Regions from separate parts of the Homo sapiens genome. Here region 2 is linked to region 1. Evidence: promoter capture Hi-C in human tissues and cell types (Jung and others, 2019). All regions are on one chromosome and are shown on one strand. The core of a region is centred on a gene start or on the middle of the fragment in contact, and the rest is flanking DNA. Distances in the headings are between cores, read along the strand shown.

Region 1 (3,889 bases), core at 507-3,006:
TCTCGAACTCCTGATCTCAGGTGATCTGCCTGCCTCAGTCTCCCAAAGTGTTCGGATTCTTGTGAGCCACTGCGCCCGGCCTGGGACAGAATTGTAGTCCAGATGTCATGTGCTGGCCATCACCAGGAGGTTACGTTTTGCATCTCTTCTGAGCTCACCAGCTCGGCGTGGGTATGTCGGAGCAGGACGTAGTCATGCTTGGCCAAGGGGGTGCTTAGTCCTGCCTCAGTGCCACGCACCACCCCACATTCGGCAGTTCAGGACCTGGCCAGGCTCACTGAGGTTCTCACAGCCGTTTCAGGCAGGGTTGGCTTCTGCTTGTCTTTGCATTCTGTGAACTCTCACTTTCTGCTGCTGTTACCTCCTCTGACTTTTGCACTGAGGCCTGCCGCCTCAACTCCCTCTTGGTGAGTGTTTCTTAGGCTCAGCTCACACCTTCTCCTGCTCACCAAGACCTCACCCTGGGCCTGCCTGGTGTCAGCTGCCCCCGTGCCAATCCTCCCCACCCCAGCCGCACTCCTGCTTCCACAGCCTCCTCTGGCCTGCACCCTGCACGTGCCCTGGAGCCGCCCATTGTTCTTTCTCTGAATGAGTATCTGTGCCCTACGATTTAGTTGTGTGCTCCTCATTCTCTAATTGCATCCTCTAAATGGCCATCTTCTCTCCCGTAGAGGACTGTGGGCTCCTTGCAGGAAGATGCTGTCGATATGATGGGAACAAGAACAGTTCTGACATGTGACTGGCACTTCTGATGTGCCAGGCCCAGGGCTGGGCGATTTACCTAATTATTTCATTCCATGATGACAATAAACCTGTGTGATCCCACTTGACAGATGAAGAGAGGTTGAGTGGCTTGTCCAAGGTCCCCCAGCTGGGTAGCAGTAGAGCAGGGATTCTCAGCACATCCATCTGACTGTGAGCCTGTGCTTTTCACCACTGCGCAACCCTCTGTCCCTGCTTGCTGCTGGACTCACATTTCCTTGGATGTTCTTCCCGATGGCCTCCACGGAGTCTGCTTCTTGATGGCAGAACAGCCTCCTGCTGCCGTGAGAGCAGAATTACATTCTCTCCCCAAGATGCCCAGGGCCGGCTTCCTTTGTGCTCAGAGAGTGGGGTGGGCTGAGGACACTCAGAGCTTGGTGTGTTCTCCCACCCCCATTTTCTTACCCCTGTGCACCCTGCACTGTGCCACAGCCTCTCTCCCAGCCCCTTTTCCTGTGGACCCCCAAGCTGCCAGAGGGTTCTTGCCAGACCCACAGGGATCCCTGAGCTGCAGGTCTGCCATCTCTCTCTAGAGTTGGTAAGAAAATGGAACCACAGTTCACCAAAAGGCCCCAAGGAGAGGCTCCGGACTGAAGACAGCCACCCCAGCTTCACACCCCCCATCTGGACCTTTCCCCTCTACAGCCTCCCTCCCCTTCCCCCAATCAGAGTCTTTGCTTTGGGGCCCAAGCCCTTGGCTAAGCTCCACCCCTCTCCCAGCATCCTAAAGTTTGGGGGCTGCATTCAAGTCAGAGATTTCCAAGTAGGGGGTGTGTTGGAGGGACTTCTGAGGGCAGCTTGTCCTGGAAGAATGGGGGAAAGGCGGCGTGTGTTGCTGTCCCTGAGGACATCTGTGTAGCTCCCTGGGAGACCCTCTGCCCTTTCCCCCTCCCACCAGCCCGGCGAGCAGGGACCAAGCCTGCTTATTATCACCTGACGCTGCGCAGCCGCTGATCCCATTGGTGGAGGCAGATTCGGTCTGGCTCTCTCGTTCTTTCTCCCTTCTCTGCCTCTCTCTCCTCCACGCTGCTTTGATTTCGCTCTTGCCTCTCTTCTTGCGCTGCTCAGCTGGGAACATCGTCTCACCAGGGGCAGCAGCGACGCGCTGCACAGCCAGACAGGAGCTGGCTGCGGGGCATGGAAGCAGCCTCCTTGGCAGCCGGGAGAGGAGCAAGCGCACGCCACTGCCCGTGACCCAGGCGTCCGGCTGCTGTCCCCTGCCGGGGAGCTCATCCACGCAGAGGTCTCTCCCTGTCCTCCCTGCGAGCTTTTCCTCTGCAGAGCCCAGTGGAGCCAGGTGAGTACCCTTCCTCCCTGGAACCTGCTGCTGTTGATCCTGAGTAGCCGGGATCTGGGGGCTCTAGGGTCCTGCCACCACCCAGGGTGCCCACCTGGACTGCCAGGCCTGACGACCTTGTCCCCTCTCCCCCCCCCCGGCCAGGCCTTTGGCAAAGTGGTTAATGGCTGAATCCAGTCTCTGGGGCACCACAGTTAGTCACCCCGTGACCGTTCTGCTGCAGTCAGCGATGCCAACAGGGACAGCAGGGTGGGGGAAGCATTCCCTGTGGCAGGGTGGCTGTTTGAATGGGCATGGGGAAGGGGCACCGGTGTGCGCGGCGTGTGTGTGTGCGCGCTCGCGAGTTGGCTGGAGGCTTGCTGGCGCAGATAGGTCCGTCTGTCCGCAGTCATGCTCATGTGTGGGTTTTGAATGGTGTGAGGCATGTCTAGAAACATATCTTTCTGGCACACGTGAGGTACATGTGTGTGGGGGACTTATTTGAGTAGCCTGTGGGTGTGCGTGGGTGGGGACACTATGAGGCAGTATATTTAGGGGTAACCATGTCCCTTTTCATGTGTGTGGGAGTGTATGCAGACAGGGGCTTTCTATATGGGGAGGTGAGACCCAGAGCAGGATGGAGTGGGTAAAGAGAAGAAGGGGCAGAAACCATTGTCTGTGGGCAGAGCCACGTAGGTGCACAAACCTGTTGGCATGAAGGCTCAGGGCTGGCAGAGTGTGGCCAGAGGCAAACACATTTTCAAAGTCTGTCTTTGAGCCTGGAGATGATTCGAGAGAGAATACCAGACTTCGGGCGGGGGCTGCTGTGTGTATGAACACACATGTGTGTGCCGGCAGGCGTGTGGGTTGCGTGCCTTCTTGTGGAGGTGGCACACATGCATGTTGGTGCCTGTGGCATCCTCTTTTCCCCACATATGGCTTGTGAGGCGGTGTGCGTGGACGTGTGTGTGCGTGAGCCTGTGGACATGAACATGTCTGGGTGTGCATGGAGGTGACAGATTGAAGAGGGAAAACTGTGGGGCATTCTTAGAATGTGGAAGGTGGCAGCAGGCACCTGAATGTGGAGATGGGTGTGTGGGAGTGAGGACATCTGCGGAGGTGTGGGACGCGGGTGGGTGGGCACTCTTGGCGCATGTGTGTATGCGCGTGCGTGCCTGCCTGTGTGTGGGTGTGTACATGCCTGTCTTGGGGTGGATCCACACAGGAGTGTGGGTGTTTCTCGGGTGTTGCCTCAACCTGTCCCTCACACCCTGCCCTTCCCCAGTCTTCTGGGTGTAGAGAACTTGGGTTCACACCCACCCCTCTGTCCACCCCAGCTCACTCACTGCCACCCTCCCAAGCTAGCGGGGGGATGTCATCTCAGCTTTCCCAGAACCGTAGGGAGGGAGGGACAAGCAGACACCCAGGTCCTGGAGACCCCTACCGCCAAACACAGCTGCCCCTATTTCTAGGAGGACTCCAAGGAGAGGCAGGAATAGGTGCCTACTCATGGGACGAGTGTGGGCTGCCTCCGAGCGTGTGGGTGGGTGCCGCTCAGGGCCTCTTGGGTAGGAGTGTGTCTGTGTTCGTGTGTGTGTGTGCGTGTGTGTGTGTGAGGGGCACATGTGTGTCTCCCTGGGAGCTTCTCACCAGGTTCCCAAGAGATGGTAACTCCCCACTGCTCCACACCTGTCCCCATGAATTACAAACTGGTTTATTATGGTAGGGTTGTTTCCAGACACTCAATCCCATCTGCCTGATTTTGGGGTGGGCCTGGTAGCACCGCCATGCTTATTTACCATAGGATTCCCCATGCACAAAGCCACCGGCATTTGGCTGTGGGGTGGGAGG
Region 2 (3,889 bases), core at 1,390-3,889, 770 kb before region 1:
TTAAAACCCAAGAGCCAAAAGAACTTCTTTCTCAAGTTCCGATTCTCCCAGCATGTAGGTCTGTAGACAGAAGCGGGGGAATGAGGAGGCCTAATGGAGGGATGCCAGTTCTCAAATTCAGGAGCACCTTGACAGTGAGAATAATGCCAGAACACCAGCAGAGCAGTGCTGGGCCAAGTTCAGCTACTTTGTGATGAAAACACTGCTGCCCACCTGTGCTATGTCACCTCTAGAGTTAAGCAGTGGTCAGCCAATCAACAAGTGGAAATTGACAAATACTGTGCCATGAGTTTAGACATCAGACCTTCTGGGTTGCGCAACCCCTTCCATCCATTCCCCAGCCCCTTCAGCAGTCCCCTTGTCCTTCAGCTGCCTCTCTGTTTGTATCATCTCACCCTTTCTACCCTGTCCCAACTGCCTGACTGGCAAACTTCACTGTCCTATCTAGGAAGAGGCAAGTCACTTATATTTTCTGGGCATCAGTCTCCCCCTCTGGGAAATGGGTATGAAGACATTGGAAGAGTCTCCTGAACCGTGGTTAATTTGTGCCAAGAGAGGCTGGGCTGAAAGGAGGTATTTGTCTTCTTATGTAATGTGGTATTATATAATGCTAGATTGCATATCTATATGTGTAATTATATCTGTCTTTAAGATACAGACTGGCCCAATTCAAGTGTTAGAACTCTTAGTCTAATCAGGCCTGTCTTAAAGGAGGATCCTGTCCTGGAGAGAGTGTGCCAAGAGTAATATAATTTTTGCCCTAGGATGTTGCTGATGTTGTATCATTGCTGATGTATGGTGATACAGCCCACTCATTGCTGATATATGGTGATACAGCCCATTCAGTGAGCCTCTCAGCTTCCCCTCTCCCTCCGGCTCTCTCTTCTTCCCTGACTCCAGACTCTCCCTCACAATTGCCTCATCCCCACTCAATCAACCTCCATAAACTATGACCTCCTCACCACCCAGCCCTGGGCATCACAACCCCCAACTCACTCCTCTTCCATGACAATCGCAAAGTCACTGGCATGTGTTCCTTCCATCCCTGTCCCATGATCCCTGTGCCCCTCCAAAAACAGCCTCCTGCCCACCGCTCTCCCAGCTCTTTGTACTTGGTGCAAGCCAAAACCCAAGGTGTGCTGAAATTAGCTACAAACCTCGTGCTCTCCCAGTCCCACCCCCACACCCCTACACACACTCTTTGCAGAGCTCAGAAAGGGCCCCTTTCCCTCCCACAGCTGATAGGAGGCTTGTTCATCTGTGGCTGCCCTAGTCTGGTTGTCAAGGAAACAACAGAATCTCCCTGGGAGCCTGGCTTGTCTCCTAGCAACCAGTATCCCACATCATCTTACAAAATGGGAATGGGAGGAAAATCCTGAAAATGAAGGTAAAATCAAGGGAGATGGATTGAATGGAGAATTGGAAGGAGAAGAACAAAGAGAGAGTGGACTCCTAATTCGGGGAGGCTCCCACGGGGGTCGCTGGCATTGCAAGAAGCCCCGTGCAGATCCAACAGAAAGCAAGGCCCAAAGGGACCCTGAATGGTCAGATTAAAGAAATGCAAGCCTAAACACAGATAAGCCCCCTCAAACCTAAAATGTGGACACATCACCAAACACCGCCAAAGATCTCCCCAGTAGTTTCACAGAACTCAGTTACATAGACTGCAATGGAGTTGAGTTCAAAGAACCAGCTCCGGAACCGCCAGCAAAACACCCCAATTCCACTGTTGTTTTGTGTTTGTTTTCTTAACAGAATCACTCCCACCACTCTGGACCGTTTTTCCTTTTTTCTGACACGCTACTCTGCACACACACAAAATAGAAATTTAAAAATTTTTAAACATCGAGAAGGGGGAGGGGCACGACAGGCCGAAGCAATCAAGTCATCTTCCTTTCCCTAGAAACACCGGAAAGGATTAGGCTCCAGCCCCGCTGTACCCAGCAGCCGAAGCCAGAGCCCAGGGACTAGCGGGGCCCGGGGAACGTAGCGAGGGGCGCGGCAGGGCAGGGAGGGCGGAGCGGCGCGTCTGCAAGGGCTGCTGGCCACCCCGCCATAACCGCAAGCAGCCATCTACTTACACCACTACATGTGACGGGGTGGCTTCTAGCGTGAGGAACACATCTCTTCCTGCTGAGCACGCTCATTTTAGTGAAATGTCAGGGGTCCCTCCGCGCCTGCAAGTTGGGACGACGCCGGCGCCGCCGCGCTGCTGCTGGGCTCCAGCCTCCCGGCCAGCTCGCGGCCACTCAGAAACTCCGGCAGGGCAGCCCAGGCCGGACGTGGGCCCAGGAGCGGACGCGCGCGCTGCACTGCAGCCGCTGCCCCTTCCGGATCAGCATCGCCCCGCGCGCCAGGCGCCCAATGTCACGGCGGCGCGCGGAGCCGGGCTGCGGAGGCAGCGGGCGGCGCGCAGGGGCGCCGGGAGAGGGGCGAGGCCGCCGCCGCTACGCGCCCGGGCCCGCGGCGAAGGCGCTGCCGCGAAGACGCCTGGCGCTGCAGTCCCAGGTACCGCTCGCGACCTCCTTTTTTCATTCACAAAAAAAGGATAGGGAAAAAAAAAAGAAAAGAAAAAAACGGGAGGGTAAAAAAAGGAGGAGAAAAAAATCGCACCCAAGACGACAGCCGTGACGGGCCCCGCCCACTGCCGCGCGCAGTTGGTGGAAAGCGTTCGGGGGGCGGGGAGGGGGCGGGCGGGGGAAGAAGGGGATTGGACGCCCCGCAGATCCCGCCTCGCAGCACCGCTCCCGCCCACCGCCCGCGCTCTTCCGCCCCTCCCGCAGCGACGCCGCGGGGAGGGTCTCGGCTCGCGGGTCTGGGTGGCGCCGGTCCCTCCACCTGGCGAGGCGCAAAGGCTCTCCGGACGCCCACGGGGTTTTCCCCTTTCCTTCGGGAGGCGGGGGAGAACCTCTGAGAGGCATCCTAGTGCACCCTGGAAGGGATGCTAGTTGGAGGAGAACGTGTGGTTGTAAGCCCAGGCCCCCACCACTTGCCCACGGGGAGGCGACGGCAGGGGCAGTCGGGGGGGCGGGGGGCGGGGGCCGGGTAGGGACGAATAACCGGCGTTTCCATACAAGCCCTCTGCTGCTTTGGGAATTTTCGTGGCACTTGAGAGCCTTCCTCCCTCCATGGCCCTTAATGAGTTGTGGGGTGGGTACCTGTACCACGTTACCTGTCTCCCACCTAGGCCTTCTTCAGCGGGTCCCCACCTCCATCCCATCCCCCTCCTGTTGCCTCCTGGAGTTCAGTAATAGCTGCTAATCTCTGAAAGAAACACCATGAAGTGAGTAGCCTCGAAAATCGTCCCTAAGCCTTCTTTGGGTTTTCTGCCTCAATTTACCCCTCTGTAAAATAGAGAGATTCTAAGGTATAACATCTATAACCTGAGGGGTCCCTAGAAGACACTTTCCATATTCAAGGCTGGTTTTATCAGGATAATCTTTTTTTTTTTTTTTTTTTTTTGAGTCTCCCTCTGTTGCCCAGGCTGGAGTGCAGTGGTGCAATCTTGGTTCACTGCAACCTCCGCCTCTTGGGTTCAAGCAGTTCTGCCTCAGCCTCCCGAGTAGCTGGGACTACAAGTGCACGCCACTATTCCCAGCTAATTTATGTATTTTTGGTAGAGACGGGGTTTCACCACCTTGGCCAGGCTGGTCTCGAACTCCTGACCTCGGGTGATCTGCCTGCCTTGGCCTCCCAAAGTACTAGGATTACAGGCGTGAGCCACCATGCCCAGCCAGGATGATCTTGACTGCTAGTGTTAAGTAGTCAGCTCAGTCTGGTTTGATTCATCTCCTCAGTTACCTCTGGACAATTTTTAAAGCCCAGACCAGCCTGCCACCCACCTGAACCGCCTCCACCACTCCTCCATCTTGTGCTCTGAAAATGCAAA

What was found. Contacts are between HindIII fragments. The study calls those that stand out against the background at their distance.
Region 2: a contact is called between the fragment with the promoter of RHOBTB2 here and the fragment with the promoter of PHYHIP in region 1, in 1 of the 25 tissues and cell types used here (small bowel).

What each region holds. Positions count from the first base shown.
Region 1 is chr8:22,229,966-22,233,854 of GRCh38, reverse strand. PHYHIP (phytanoyl-CoA 2-hydroxylase interacting protein) reads left to right here and starts at 1,756. Exons shown (of 5, transcript NM_014759.5): 1 at 1,756-2,059. RefSeq lists enhancers at 1,379-2,126, 3,052-3,221. The HindIII fragment of the contact is 22,356 bases long and covers 1-3,889 here.
Region 2 is chr8:22,998,298-23,002,186 of GRCh38, reverse strand. RHOBTB2 (Rho related BTB domain containing 2) reads right to left here and starts at 2,639. Exons shown (of 10, transcript NM_015178.3): 1 at 2,082-2,639. RHOBTB2-AS1 (RHOBTB2 antisense RNA 1) reads left to right here and starts at 2,382. Exons shown (of 2, transcript XR_007060857.1): 1 at 2,382-2,508. RefSeq lists silencers at 1,930-1,979, 2,310-2,479, 2,700-2,959. The HindIII fragment of the contact is 11,667 bases long and covers 1,264-3,889 here.